Linked DNA regions of Homo sapiens: regions 1, 2, 3 and 5 are each linked to region 4. The links are contacts of gene promoters, found by promoter capture Hi-C in human tissues and cell types (Jung and others, 2019). All regions are on one chromosome and are shown on one strand. Each heading gives the region's core, a stretch centred on a gene start or on the middle of the fragment in contact. The rest is flanking DNA. Distances are from core to core; before and after follow the strand shown. Region 1 overlaps TPGS1 (tubulin polyglutamylase complex subunit 1). Region 2 holds the start of CDC34 (cell division cycle 34, ubiquitin conjugating enzyme). Region 3 holds the start of POLR2E (RNA polymerase II, I and III subunit E). Region 4 holds the start of PTBP1 (polypyrimidine tract binding protein 1). Region 5 overlaps SBNO2 (strawberry notch homolog 2).

Evidence for each region. The method cuts DNA at HindIII sites, captures the fragments that hold promoters and counts their contacts. A contact is called where the count stands out against the background at its distance.
Region 1: a contact is called between a fragment that was not itself captured here and the fragment with the promoter of PTBP1 in region 4, in 1 of the 25 tissues and cell types used here (dorsolateral prefrontal cortex).
Region 2: a contact is called between the fragment with the promoter of CDC34 here and the fragment with the promoter of PTBP1 in region 4, in 1 of the 25 tissues and cell types used here (aorta).
Region 3: a contact is called between the fragment with the promoter of POLR2E here and the fragment with the promoter of PTBP1 in region 4, in 1 of the 25 tissues and cell types used here (dorsolateral prefrontal cortex).
Region 5: a contact is called between a fragment that was not itself captured here and the fragment with the promoter of PTBP1 in region 4, in 1 of the 25 tissues and cell types used here (dorsolateral prefrontal cortex).

Annotation. Positions count from the first base shown.
Region 1 is chr19:513,316-516,015 of GRCh38, reverse strand. All of the region lies in intron 1 of TPGS1 (tubulin polyglutamylase complex subunit 1), which reads right to left. Among named protein-coding and RNA genes, the nearest start is that of MADCAM1-AS1, 6.8 kb to the right of the region's middle. The HindIII fragment of the contact is 7,591 bases long and covers 1-2,700 here.
Region 2 is chr19:530,329-533,102 of GRCh38, reverse strand. It overlaps CDC34 (cell division cycle 34, ubiquitin conjugating enzyme), which reads right to left and starts at 1,343. Exons shown (of 5, transcript NM_004359.2): 1 at 995-1,343. The coding sequence starts at 1,171. RefSeq lists enhancers at 1-128, 199-248, 646-1,302 and silencers at 509-678, 1,099-1,838. The HindIII fragment of the contact is 13,520 bases long and covers 1-2,774 here.
Region 3 is chr19:1,094,125-1,096,949 of GRCh38, reverse strand. POLR2E (RNA polymerase II, I and III subunit E) reads left to right here and starts at 1,575. Exons shown (of 8, transcript NM_002695.5): 1 at 1,575-1,691. The coding sequence starts at 1,635. RefSeq lists enhancers at 1,542-1,631, 2,389-2,825. The HindIII fragment of the contact is 36,385 bases long and covers 1-2,825 here.
Region 4 is chr19:796,193-798,892 of GRCh38, reverse strand. It overlaps PTBP1 (polypyrimidine tract binding protein 1), which reads right to left and starts at 1,441. Exons shown (of 15, transcript NM_002819.5): 1 at 1,388-1,441. The coding sequence starts at 1,395. RefSeq lists enhancers at 1-602, 603-1,488, 1,695-2,034, 1,687-2,322 and silencers at 745-1,054, 1,125-1,304, 1,315-1,664, 1,428-1,782. The HindIII fragment of the contact is 37,831 bases long and covers 1-2,700 here.
Region 5 is chr19:1,120,094-1,122,826 of GRCh38, reverse strand. It overlaps SBNO2 (strawberry notch homolog 2), which reads left to right. Exons shown (of 32, transcript NM_014963.3): 9 at 36-169; 10 at 269-359; 11 at 545-688. Among named protein-coding and RNA genes, the nearest start is that of GPX4, 17 kb to the right of the region's middle. RefSeq lists an enhancer at 1-488. The HindIII fragment of the contact is 7,332 bases long and covers 1-2,733 here.

The DNA of each region.
Region 1 (2,700 bases), core at 83-2,582, 280 kb after region 4:
CTGTCGCCCGGGCTGGAGTGCAGTGGCGGGATCTCGGCTCACTGCAAGCTCCGCCTCCCGGGTTCACGCCATTCTCCTGCCTCAGCCTCCCAAGTAGCTGGGACTACAGGCGTCCGCCACTATGCCCGGCTAATTTTTTGTATTTTTAGTAGAGACGGGGTTTCACCGTTTTAGCCGGGATGGTCTCGATCTCCTGACCTCGTGATCCACCCGCCTCGGCCTCCCAAAGTGCTGGGATTACAGGCGTGAGCCACCGCGCCCGGCCCTCTTTCTTTTTTTGAGACAGTGTCTCACTCTGTTGTCAGGCTGGAGTGCAGTGGCACAATCTCAGCTCACAGCAACCTCCACCTCCCGGGTTCAAGCGATTCTCCTGCCTCAGCCTCCTGAGCTGCTGGGATTACAGGCGTGTGTTACCACACCCAGCTAATTTTTGTATTTTTAGTAGAGACGGGGTTTCACCATGTCGGCCAGGATGGTCTGGATCTCGAGTGACCTCGTGGTCCGCCCACCTCGGCCTCCCAAAGTGCTGGGATTACAGGTGTGAGCCACTGCGCCCAGTCTGTGCTGAACATTTAACACAGCTGACATTGCATTTTTTCTTTTTTTTTTTTTTTTGAGACAGGGTCTCACTGTGTTGTGCAGGCTGGAGAGCAGTGGTACAATCAGGGCTCACAGCAGCCTCCACCTCCTGGGCTCAAGCGATCCTCCTGCCTCAGCCTCCCAAACTGCTGGGATTACAGGTGACAGTTGCTGCTCGGGGCCAGTGGTGGTATTTCTCTCCCCACAATCCCACAGGCAAGGCCCCACAGTCAGCCTGAGGGTCAAATACGACCTGCTGCCTGCTTTTGTAAATAAAGCTTTATCGGAACATAACCACATCAGTCCGCTGACATGTGGCCTGTGGCAGCTTCCGACCAGAACCGTAGAGCTGAATGTCAGGATGGAGGCTGCCACGCAAAGCTGAAATGTTCACTATCTGGCCCCTTACAGAAGAAGGCTGTCAGCCCTGCTGCCGGCTCTGGGGTGGGTTCGATTCCCTGCCCCAGTGAGGAGCCTGAGGCCTTACTACGTGCCACTCGTGTGCTGGTAGTGTGACACACACTCCCGTGGAGGGCACCAGGGAGTGGCCAGGGAGCACCGTGGCCAGCGTGGGGGCCGCTGCAGGACCCTGGGTGGGCTGCTTAACCCCCTGGCCTCACTCCCCCCATCAGTTCCCGGCCAGGCCTCATGCTAGTGGCCTGTTACTTCCTCTGGGACATATAGGGAAACTGAGGCTCAGGGCAGCCCCATGGTCTGGCCAAGGGTCCCAGAGAGGAAGTGGCCAACCTCAGGGCTTACGCTTTTCCCTTCTGGGAGCTCAGCTTCATGGTGAGGAGGGCAGCCTTCCCTCCGGCATGACCTGGGCACACGACTTCACCTTTCTGTGGGCCACCTGTGGTAGGTGCCGGGGAAGTGCTAAGCCAGCATGCAGTAGGTGCTCAGTAAATGCAGGGTTGGTGTGCAGCAGGTGCTCAGTAATGCAGGGCTGGTACACAGTAGGTGCTCAGTGATGCTGGGCCAGAATGCAATAGGTGCTCAGTAAATGTGGGGCTGGTGTGCAATAGGTACTCAGTAATGCTGGGGCGGTGTGCAGTGGGTGCTCAGTAAATGCTGGGCCAGTAAGCAATAGGTGCTTAGTAAACGTGGGGTCGGTGTGCAGTGGGTGCTCAGTAATACAGGGCCGGTGTAGAGTAGGTGCTCAGTGAATGCAGGGCCAGTACACGGTAGGTACTCAGTAATGCTGGGGCGGTGTGCAGTGGGAGTGAAGTAAATGCTGGGCCAGCATGCAATAGGTGCTCAGTAAATGTAGGGTCAGTGTGCAGTGGGTGCTCAGTAATACAGGGCTGGTGTACAGTAGGTGCTTAGTGAATGCAGGGCTGGTACATAGTAGGTGCTCAGCAAATGTGGGGCCAGTGTGCAGTGGGTGCTCAGTAATGCTGGGTCTGTGTACAGTGGGTGCTCAGTAAATGCTGGGCCAGCATGCAATAGGTGCTCAGTAAATGTGGGGCCGGGGCAGGTTGGTGTGCAGCAGGTGCTCAGTAATGCAGGACTAGTGCACAGTAGGTGCTCAGTAATGCTGGGGTTGTGTGCAGTGGGTGCTCACTAAATGCTGGGCCAGGATGCAATAGGTGCTCAGTAAATGTGGGGCCAGTGTGCAGTAGGTGCTCAGTAAATGTGGGGCTGGTGTGCAGTAGGTACTCAGTAATGCTGGGCTGGTGTGCAGTAGGTACTCAGTAATGCTGGGCTGGTGTGCAGTAGGTACTCAGTAATGCTGGGCTGGTGTGCAGTAGGTACTCAGTAATGCAGGGCCAGTATGCAGTAGGTGCTCAGTAATGCTGGGCTGGTGTGCAGTAGGTGTTCAGTAATGCAGGGCCGGCATGCAGTAGGTGCTCAGTAAATGCTGGGCGGGTGCACAGTAGGTGCTCAGTAATGCTGGGCCGGTGCACGGTGGGTGCCTGGTGAACACGTGCCTCCCTGGTCATCACTGCTGCTCAGTTCAGGGCTTAGGGATGGACGTGCCATCTCAGCGAGCTCGAGGGTCAAAGCTCTGCTATGGAGGAGGAAACTGAGGCCCAGAGGCAGGAGGGCAGCGACCTGCAATTCAACTCTAGGCCCATCTGGCTGTACGCTCCTTTTCCCTCCCAAGTAGTAAAGGCCCCA
Region 2 (2,774 bases), core at 94-2,593, 270 kb after region 4:
AAGAAAACTGCCCTGGTTTTGGCCTGAGTCCTTTTCACATGAGACAGAAACAGCCTCCCCGCTCCCAACAACAACAAAAACATCCAGAAACTGCTTGGAATTAAACCGCCAGAGGGCAGAAGAAACGGCCCAGAACTCGGGGTTTGGGTCCCAAGAAGCCACCTGTTCAGTGGACTCTGAGAAAGGCCAAGACCAGCTGGGATGAGCGAGCCCGGAGCTTCTGAGGTCGGGGTCCGGGACGCGGGCCCGAGCCGGGAGGCCTGGAGAGAGCTGCAGGGAGCAGGTGGGAGGCACGCCCCTACTTCGGCCTTCCCGAGGGCGCAGGTTACATAAAGCAGGGGATGGAGCCCAGGGCGCCTGGCCGGCTGCTACTGGCAAGGGTGGCCGCTTTCCAGGCGGGTCCTGGCTGCCAAGGCTCATCCGGGCCTTTGTTGGAGACTGAGCGAGTGGCCGCGCCAGCCACCCCCAGGCTGGCCTCGCTCCCCCGCTCACGGGCCCAGCTCCCCAACAATAGCAGCTACGGGGTCTGGGGGGGCCTCTTTGTCTCCTCCGGGGAGGGCGGGGAGGGCAGCTGAAAGGCCGGCGCGGCCTGGGCTCCGCTCCCTCTTTCTCGCAGGGGCGGAGGGGGAGGCAGCCGGGGTCCAGCCCCCGCCAAGGAGGAGGTGGGCAAGAGCCCCACGCCCAGATGCTACAGGGAGGGCCCCCGGCCACCCCTCCGGGGGCCAAGAGCCTAACAGGGGACCGGACGATGCCTTGAAGGGAACTGGGGATTTTCGAGGACTGCAGCAGAGGCTGAAGGTCCCCGAGACGGTCCGAGGAGGGGGCCGGGCAGAGCTGGGTGGGGGAACGTGGCCATAGAAGGGAAACGAGCCCAAGCCAGGAGGCTTCGGGGCCCGCCCAGCAACAGCGCTAGGACCGCGGGGCAGGGAGCTGGTTCCCGGCGCCCGAGGTCGCTCGTGGGCTCCGGGACCCGGGCGGGGGTCGCCGCGCTCACCTTGAAGTAGCCGCCCTCGTAGTAGGTGTTGGGGGGCCCGAAGATGGCCACCTCCCAGTTGTATAGATCGCCCTCGTCCACCAGTGTCACGCGGAATCCCTCGACCGGCTCTTCCTGCAGCCCCTTGAGCTCCAGCAGCAGCGCCTTCTGCGAGCTGGGCACTAGCGGCCGAGCCATGGCGGCGGCGGAGGGGCCCGGGGTCGGAGCAGCGCGGGGCCGCGCGACCACCGCGAGTTCGCGAGACGGGCCGGGCCGCGCACCGTCCGGGGGGGAGCCACCGGGGCCGCCGCCTGCCTCCTCCTCTGCGCCGCCGCCGCCGCCCGGGGACCCCGAGCGCTCCAGCAGCTCTGGCGCCGCCGCCCCACCGGCGCTTGCCTTGGCCGGGCCCGCGCGCCCCGCCCCCCGCTGCGCCTGCGCGCACCGCCTGGCCCCGACTGCGCCTGCGCTCCGCGGCCAGGTCCGACTTGCGCCTGCGCGCCCGGCCGCAGGGGACGCCGGGAGGTGGAGTCCCGGCCCCGGTCCCGCCTACGGCGCCGAGCGCCTCCGCCGGGAGGGAGGGTTCGAGCGCGCAGCCCCGGGCTCTTCCGATCCCCGAGGCCGCCGCCGTCGCCCCCTGCTCGACCAGCACCGCGGACGCTGTGCGCAAGGAGGCGGGCAGGGCTGCTCTGCGCCGTCACCGGCCCGGTCCCCCGGCTTTGGGGTTGTTTTGTGACGTGCCGGCGCGGGGCGGGGCCGCGGGCGGTGAACGGGGCGCGGCGCGGGGTCCTGACCGGGACCGGAGGGGCAGGGCCGGTCCATCCGGCGCGACCCCGCGTCCCCGTCTCCGTTTCCCCGTCTGTGCAGGGGACGGGCGCGAAGTCTGTCCTAGGGTCGCGCTGGCCACGCGGAAGGGAGGAAGGGGCGGGAGCGAGGCGGGATCCGCAGACCTGGCTTCCAGGCGCGGCGCTGCCTCGGTTCCCCCGACAGCGGGAGCTCTGAGAAGTGGGCGAGGTCGGGGAGGGCTCTGAGGGGTGGGAGGGGCGAGGGCTTCCCTGGTCCCCGTTGAAGTCACCATGTGGTGTGAGGCGAGTGCAGGCGCTGGAGCCATCAGAGGTTGGCAAGGTGCTCCTGCCCCCCAGAGAAACTGGGAAAGAGGCCTACGCCGGCCAGCATCGGCTCAGCACCTGACCCGGGAGAGGCGCCAGCCCCACGGAGCCCCCACCCCAAGCTGAGCCCGAGCCTGGCTGTGCCCTCCTCCCAGCCTGACCTTTGTCCTACCCGAGTCTTTTTTTTTTTTTTTTTTTTAAATGAGACAGAGTCTCGTTCTGTGGCCCAGGCTGGAGTGCAGTGGCACAATCTCACTGCAACCTCCGCCTCCCGGGTTCAAGCTAGTGTCCGCCTCAGCCTCCCGAGTAGCTGAGATTACAGGTGCCCGCCACCACGTCCGGCTAATTTTGTATTTTAAGTAGAGATGGGGTTTCACCATGTTGGCCAGGCTGGTCTCGAACCCCTGACCTCAAGTGTGTTGTTAGGTTTTGAAAGGAAGGGGAGGATGCAGTTTGGACTAATAAAGGGATCCGTCTGCGTCGGCCTCCCAAATGCTGGGATTATAGGCATGAGCCACCGCGCCCAGCCCACCTGAGTCTTGACCCCAGCTGATTCCGGGCATCACTGTGACCCCACCTGACTTCTGACCTGGCTCAGTGGCTGCCCAGACACCCACATGCTCCTTGCTGTGAAGCTTGGTCGGGAGAACTGGCCGTGGTGAGGACGGGGCAGCCCAGCCTCCCCTGAGTCGTGC
Region 3 (2,825 bases), core at 326-2,825, 300 kb before region 4:
CCAATGGGATTTTTTTTTTTTTTTCTCGATGGAGTCTTGCTCTGTCACCCAGGCTGGAGTGCAGTGGTGCGATCTCGGCTCACTGCAACCTCCGCCTCCCGGGTTCAAGTGATTCTCCTGCCTCAGCCTCCCGAGTAACTGGGAGTACAGGCACCCACCACCAAACCTGGCTAATTTTTGTATTTTTAGTAGAGACAGGGTTTCACCATGTTGGCCAAGCTGGTCTGGAACTCCTGATCTCATGCTCTGCCTGCCTCGGCCACCCAAAGTGCTGGGATTACAGTGATGAGCCACCACTGCTAATGGGATTTTTGCTTGAATCTATCCTCACTGTATTCCCTGACCTCCCCATGTGATACTGCAGTTCTCCCATTCTCCCCATGTCACTTAGCCTCCCTGCTCTTTCTTCTTCCGTAGCTTTGTCACTTTCTAACGTTGTTATTTATTTTATTTTATTTCATTTCATTTTATTTTTGAGACAGAGTCTTGCTCTGTTGTCCAGGCTGGAGTGCAGTGGCACGATCTTGGCTCACTGAAACCTCCACCTTACAGGTTCACGAGATTCTCCTGCCTTAGCCTCCTAAGTAGCTGAGACTACAGGCACCTGCCACCTGGCCCAGCTAATTTTTTGTATTTTTAGTAGAGACGGGGTTTCACCGTGTTAGCCAGGATGGTCTTGAACTCCTGATCTCATGCTCTGCCCGCCTCAGCCTCCCAAAGTGCTGGGATTATAGGCATGAGCCACCGCGCCCGGCCACGTTATTTATTATATTTTACTAAATCCTGTCTTTATCTGAATGCAAGGGATACTTGGCCTGTTTTATTCACCATCACTGTAGGTTGCTGAGTAAATGTTGAATTAACGAATGCATCACTGAATAAGTTACTGATAGCCTGCACACAGGAAGTGTTGGGCTGGGGTTCTCCGTGAACCTGGGGAAGTGAGGAGGTTTGCAAAGACAGGAAGAGTCTGGGGTGGGGAGATACCCAGGCTAGGCTGGGGAGATACCCAGGCTAGGCTGGTGGCGCTCAGGGGAGAGGACAGAGGTGAGGGGACTTAATAAGCACCTAGAGAGATGCCTAAGACTCTCAGTTAACCGTCTAAAGTAGGGACACTTTATTGCCATTGCACAGGTAGGGAAACTGAGGCCCAAGGGAATTAACCCTGACCTGGCCAGGAGCCAATGGAGGAAACCCTGTACAGTTTGATGCACAAATATTTATAGAGTTCCCACTAGGCTCCCAGACCATCCCTAGGAGCCGAGCTGCCCCTTGACCCCATCCAGGCCTCAGTTTCCCCGCTCACACTTCGCCCCCGCCTCGTGGGATTCTAAACTGTTGCTCCAAGGTGGGAGTTGAACGGAAACTACAACTCCCGAGAGGCTGTGCGGCCAAAGACACACGAGAACTACGGAGGCGAGAGACTCGCTCAGCCAACTGCCGCTCTCGTAAGGCTCGGGCTGCCCTTGGCGCTGCCGATCCGAGACGTTGCTGCATTCAGGCATTCGCCGACGACAGACCAGCGCGGGGCGGGGTTAGGCGGAGGGGGCCTGATTCGGATTCGGCGCAGGCGCAGTCCGCGCGGGTTCTCGCGCGGAGAAGGGGTGCGAGCGGCGGCGGCGGCGGAGGCTGCCATGGACGACGAGGAGGAGACGTACCGGCTCTGGAAAATCCGCAAGACCATCATGCAGGTGAGCCGCGCCTGGTGTTGGGGGCGGGGGCGCGGGCGGCGGGTGTAGGGGCCCGAGGTGGGGTCGAGCACGGCGTCTCCTCGTACTCTCGTCGGAGCAGCAGCGATGAAGGGCCGGGCCGATACGGGAGGCCCAGAGGTCGCCGGGGATACCAGGCGCTGGACCCGACCTGAGCCGGCAGCGGGGAAGGGAGGGGGTTTCGAGACGTCTGGGTGCGGTGCTTAGGGGTGGGTGGGCGGCTTGGGCTGGTGCGGCGCGCGTGGCGGCGAGAGGAGGAGGAAGCCGCGAATGGGGACGGGGGGCGCCCCCAGACTCTGCCCTTCTCTGTGATTCAGCGTCGCTATTTGTCCTTGCGTCCTGAACCCCATGGAGTCTTCAGCATCCGAGGCTGGCAGAGTTGGTGGTTGGGAAGCAGCGGGCGAGCTGGGGCTTTCGATGGGGACGTGGAGCTCGGAACCCGTGCCTTGGGGTCTGGGGCAGATGGAGGCCACTGGGTCGAGTCCGGTTTGGAAGCCGGGCACAGGCCTGAGGACCTGCGGTTCAGGGTATTGCCTCAGCCATTGGGGCCGTTTGAGAGCTTTTGCTTTGTCTTGCTTCCCACCCTTTGCCCTTGTCCTCAGCGAAGCCCCCCGCAGCCTGATTCTTCTTTCTCCGATCCTCAAACATTGTCAGCCTGAAGTCACATCTGTTTCGGTCCCTGTCATTTTTTTTTTTTAAGAGATAGGGTTTCATTCTGTCGCCCAGGCTGCAGTGCAGTGGTGCAATCATAGCTCACTGCATCCTTGAACTGGCCTCCAGCAACCCTCCTGCCTCAGCCTCCCTAAGTACTGGGATCACGGGCGTGAGCCTCCGCGCCCCGCCTTTGTCCCTGCCTTTAGGGTAGCTCTGCAAAGTGGTTTGGAGGGCTTTGCTCCCTGCCAGGTTTCTGTGAGGCTGGGTGGACAGACGGTCTTGGTCAAGGCTGGACATCTCTGGGAGCCTCTCAGGATCATACTGGTCCCATCCTGTGGTGTGAGGCTGTGGGGGCCGGGGTGGCTGTCATGGAGCACACAGTGAGTGTTCATCCCGTTTGCTGTTCACCTCTGTCCTCTGCAGCAGCCGCAGGTCTGACTTCCGGGTCACGAGCTTTGGCCG
Region 4 (2,700 bases), core at 192-2,691:
AAAAATTAACAGACCGACCAGAACACAGCCTCAGTTACTGATCAACCCGAGCCCCGCCCGACCCGACTCTCCCTCCTCGGGACACCCCGGGGGGAAGGTGGATAGAAAGCCGGACTGTCCGAGGCCCTCCCTTCAGCCCCGGCCAGGTCCTGACCCAACAGTGAGCTCCCCACGGCTTCTCCCGGCCACTGCAACTCCCGGCGAGGCCCTAAGTGACTCGGAGCGTCCGTCGGAAGGGCAGCCTCCGGGCCTCCTGCCTCACTCCGGGAGGCGAGTGCGCGGCCCCCGAGCCCGCGGTGCTGGGTCCGAGAGCGGGGAGCCCTCGTCTCGCCGTCTGCAGGACCCACCTGCCCGCACGCATGCTAAGGGGTCCAGACCCACTCTAGGGCTGCGCCTCTTCTGACACCACAGACTGCACGGACCACGTTTAACAGACTTTTAAAAGTGACTGAACCCAAGAAAAACTTCTCAGGAAAACGGAAAGAATGCGAAACATCTCCAGCCTCTCCCGCTTCCTATTCCCAGGGAGGGCCTCGCGCAGGAAGCGCTCGGCGGGACACGGCCTTTCTGGAGGGGGCTCCCACCTCTCCCAAGGGAAGCCCGCCCAGCAAAGCCGCCCGGAAAGGCTGCCCCGGCCCGAGAGCCGGGAAGGCCCCTCCCCATGACGGCGCCCGCGGGGGTCCCTGGAGAGGCCCCTCCGGCCCCGGGGCGGAGGACAGACCCTCGGGGCGGCCGCTTCTCTCCCGAGATCACCGAAACCCCTTGGCCGCGGCCCGGGGCGCACGGGGGGCAGGGGTAGGGCGGGGAGCGCAGAGACTCGGGCCCGCGGCGAGGCCCCGGCGCCAGCTTTCCCTCCCGGCGGCCGCCCCAGCCCCGCCTGCGCTTCCGGGGCTGCGCCGGGGGCAGAGTCCGGGCGGCGGGAAAGGCGCGCGCCCCCGATGGCGGCCGCGCACGCGCGCTGGGGCCAACGGGGACGCGCGACGGGCTACGCAGGCGCACGAGGGGAGCGGACGGGAGGCGGGAAGGGCCATCCGGGCGCGCGAGGGCCGGACGGGAAGCGGGAAGGGCCGCGCGCCGCCGAGGCGGGGCAAAGGCGAAGTGCGGGGACGCGCGCGGAGGGGGAGGGGCGCGGGAGGCCGCGTGCGCTAGGGACGGGGCGCGCGGGGGCCGGAAGCGGGCCGGACGGGGGATGGGGACGCGGCCAGACCCCCGGGAAGCCCCTGACCCGCCCCGCACCCGCGCCCGCCACGCGGAGAGGAAGGGGAGAGCCCGCCGCCCCCTCCCGCCCGAGAGGGGGCGAGATCGGCCCCGGGGAGGCCGGCGCGGCGGCGGGGGCAGGGCTGCGGCGCGGGGAGGGCGGTGGGGCGCGGGGCGACGTGCGACTCACCCGTCCATGGCACACAGAGCAGACCCGCGGGGGACGGAGTGGAGGCGCCGGAATAGCAGGAACCGACCCAACGGCTCCGAGTTATAGACTCACAAAATGGCGGAGACGCCCGCACACGTCCCCCGCGCGCGCTGCCCATTGGCTCCCGCTGCAGCCAGGGGGCGGGGAGAGCCCCGCGGGCCCCCGCCAGCACCTCCCACTGGCCAGAAGGCCGCCCGGGGGCGGGACCCAGAGAAATCGCAGGCGCCTATTGGGGGAGGCGGTTATTCCTCAAGGCCGAAGGCGGAAACGGCTTGTGTAGTCGGGGGAGGGGGAGAAAATGGGATCACGTGACGGCGTCTGAGCCAGTCAGCTGGCGCGTGGCTTTGCGGGAGACGCCATCTTGAGAGTGGGTACGTGGCGAGTCAGGCGGCGGGAAGCGTGCTTTGCCCAGGCTGCCGCCATCTTGCAAGTGGGCAGGACCCGCCCGCCTGGGCCGTGAGGGCAAAGGGAGTCGCATCGCCATCTTGGAGTCGGGCAGGAAACCCTCAGGGCTCCATGTTGGTTGTGGGCACATGGCCAAAAAGTCCGATTCAAACTGAGCGCTCACATCTGGGTGATCGCGCGGGGAGGGAAAGGCCGCGTCGCGTCCCGGACACGCCAGGGCTGTTTCCACAGTGGCCACAGATACTGCGGGCGCGCCATGATCCGGGGTCACCCCCGACCGTTCTTTGTTCGCCCCGGAACAGCGAATCCCGACTGCGGAGATAGGGAAACTGAGGTCCGGGCCCCGCACAGTCCGCGGCCGGCTGCCTACAGCTGGGAAAACTGAGGCCTGGACCTTGTACAGTCCGCGGCCGCCCGCCTACAGCTGGGGAAACTGAGGCCTGGACCTTATACAGTAGGCGGCCGCCCGCCTACAGCTGGGGAAACTGAGGCCTGGACCTTGTACAGTCCGCGGCCTCTCACCTACAGCTGGGGAAACTGAGGCCTGGACCTTGTACAGTCCGCGGCCGCCCGCCTACAGGTGGGGAAACTGAGGCCTGGACCTTGCAGTCCTTGGCCGCCCGCCTACAGCTGGGGAAACTGAGGCCTGGACCTTGTACAGTCCGCGGCCTCTCACCTACAGCTGGGGAAACTGAGGCCTGGACCTTGTACAGTGGGCGGCCGCCCGCTTACAGCTGGGGAAACTGAGGCCTGGACTTTGCACAGTCCGCGGCCAACCGCCTAAAGCTGGGGAAGCTGAGGTCCGGGCCACACACAGTCCACGGCCATCCGCCTACAGCTGGGGAAACTGAGGCCAAAGCCACACACAGTCCACGGCCATCTGCCTA
Region 5 (2,733 bases), core at 133-2,632, 320 kb before region 4:
ACCCCCAGGCCCTGACGCCTGCTCTCCGGCAACAGCAACACGAGGTCCTGCTCCCCAGCGGGCAGCGCGCGGGCTTTCTCATCGGCGATGGGGCCGGCGTGGGCAAAGGCCGGACGGTGGCCGGAGTCATCCTGGAGAACCACCTGCGCGGCCGGAAGAAAGCATTGTGGTGAGGCCCTGCCTGGGGCAGGGGGCGGGAGCGGGGGTGGGGGGCGGAAGCGGGGGGCGAGGGGGAAGGGTGGGCGCGCCTGACGCCCCCACCCCGCAGGTTCAGCGTCTCCAACGACCTCAAGTACGATGCGGAGCGCGACCTGCGGGACATCGAAGCCACGGGCATCGCGGTGCACGCGCTCAGCAAGGTAGGGGCTGTGCTCGGCAAAGTAGGGGGCAAGGTGGGGACCGTGCCCTGCAAAGTGGGGGCTGCTCAGCTGGGTGGGCCAGCAGCCAGGGCAGGCTCTGCCCAGCACCCTTACAGATAGGGAGACCCAGGTCCAGAGCCTGCTGAGCCGGGGCCCCATTCCACACCTGTTCTGTGCATCCCCAGATCAAGTACGGTGACACCACTACCTCAGAGGGCGTCCTCTTCGCCACCTACTCCGCCCTGATTGGGGAGAGCCAGGCCGGCGGCCAGCACCGCACTCGCCTCCGGCAGATCCTGGACTGGTGTGGGGAGGCCTTCGAGGGCGTCGTATCCTGCTGGGGGCAATCGGGAGGGGAGGGCTGGATTAGGGGGTCGGAGGGAAAAGGAGGATGGAGGAGTGGGAGAGGAGGGGTGGGAGTCAGGGGAGAGGAGGGCAGGATGGGAGAGGGTAGGAGCGGAGGGGTGGGGCTGGGGAAGGGCTGGAGGCCACTGGAGCTCACTACCCTGGATGTGGCCACCCAGCCCCCAGCTTTGCTCAGGGTTTAGGACTCCGGATAGAAGACTTTTCTGGTCCTGGGAGGCTGGCCCTGTGGGTACCACACAAGTGACCATCATCATTCACCACAGGGCTCCGGCTTGGTTTCTTGGTTCTGATAAGTGGGATGAGTGACCATAGATGTGGTCCTGATGTTTGCCATGATGCCGTGGGCAGAGGGTGGCCACTGAGCTGCTCCCCAAGTCAGGAAGGTGCCAACCCCAGCTGATAGTGTGGTGGGCACAGTTCACTCCCCAGCATCCCAGGGCTCTCGTCGGCAGGCTGCGGTTCGGAGGGGCTCCCCCACAGGAGACCCAGGACAGTTAGCAGCAAAGGCACGGCAGGGCACCCCTTGGCCAGGCTCAGCCCTGGTGCTCGGCCCTGCAGGGTGCACCTTGGGTGTTGGGGTGTTGGGAGCACAGGCTCAGATAAGGGAGGGACGTTGGCCTGCAGCATCCACTTCATGCACAGGACATGGCCATGGCTTTGCTGTTCAGTTAACGCCGAGACACAGAACATTCAGACTGGCCAGAAACAGAACGGGAGACTGCTGGTGTCTTCGCACCCGGCTGAACAATCTATGTGCAACAATCTACGAAATAGCGATAACCCTGAGATCATACCTCGCTGAGCTGCTACGTGGCGGCAGGGCCGGCCGTTTAATTTGTATTCTCCCAGTTTTCCTTCCTCAGACTGCTTTCCTGGAACTTGGCTTTCTTTCGTCTTAAAATATTAAGAACCTGGCCGGGTGCAGTGGCTCACGCTTGTAATCCCAGCACTTTGGGAGGCCGAGGCAGGCGAATCACGAGGTCAGGAGTTCGAGACCACCTGGACAACATGGTGAAACCACGTCTGTACTAAAAATACAAAAGTTAGCTGGGCGTGGTGGTGCGCACCTGTAATCCCAGCTACCCGGGAGGCTGAGGCAGGAGAATCGCTTGAACCCAGGAGGCAGAGGTGGCAGTGAGCCGAGATTGCCCCACTGCTCTCCAGCCCAGGCGACAGAGCGAGACTGTGTCTCATCTAAAAAAAAAAAGAGTTCCAGACTGTCTTGACCAATATGGTGAAACCCCGTCTCTACTGAAAATACAAAAATTACCCGGGCGTGGTGGCGCACACTTGTAATCCCAGCTACTCAGGAGGCTGAGGCAGGAGAATCGCTTGAACCAGGGAGTCGGAGGTTGCAGTGAGCTGAGATCGCGCCGCTGCATTCCAGCCTAGTGACAGAGCGAGACTTCGTCTCAAAAAAAAACAAAGAATTAGGGCTGGGCACGGCTCACACCTGTAATCCCAGCACTTTGGGAGGCTGAGGCAGGCAGGTCACTTGAGGTCAGGAGTTTGAGATTATCTGGCCAACCAAACGGCCAACCCCGTCTCTACCAAAACTACAAAAATTAGCCGGTTGTGGTGGTGGCACACACCTGTAGTCCCAGCTCCTTGGGAGGCTGAAGCAGGAGAATCACTTGAATCTGAGAGGCAGAGGTTGCAGTGAGCTGACATTGTATCACTGCACTCCAGCGTGGGTGACAGAGCAAGACCCTGTCTCAAAAAAACAAACAAAAAAGAAAACAGGTTCCAGGTATCCTCCTCCGATGGCAACGTCCTGCGATATCATGGTTTAGGGATCCCACCCTTCCTCGCCGGAGGCCCCATCCTCGGTGTGTGTTGTTTAGAGTCTGGGAGGAGCCATCCCAGGCCACACCCATCTAATGGTCGTGTGGGGGCCGCCTGCCCGCCCGCCCCCCATGGTAGCCGGCTGCCACTCCGACCTGGGCTTCCCTCGTGGAGTTCTCAGCCGCACAGGCGTTTGCCCCCCACCAGGAAGGTGGGGTCTTGG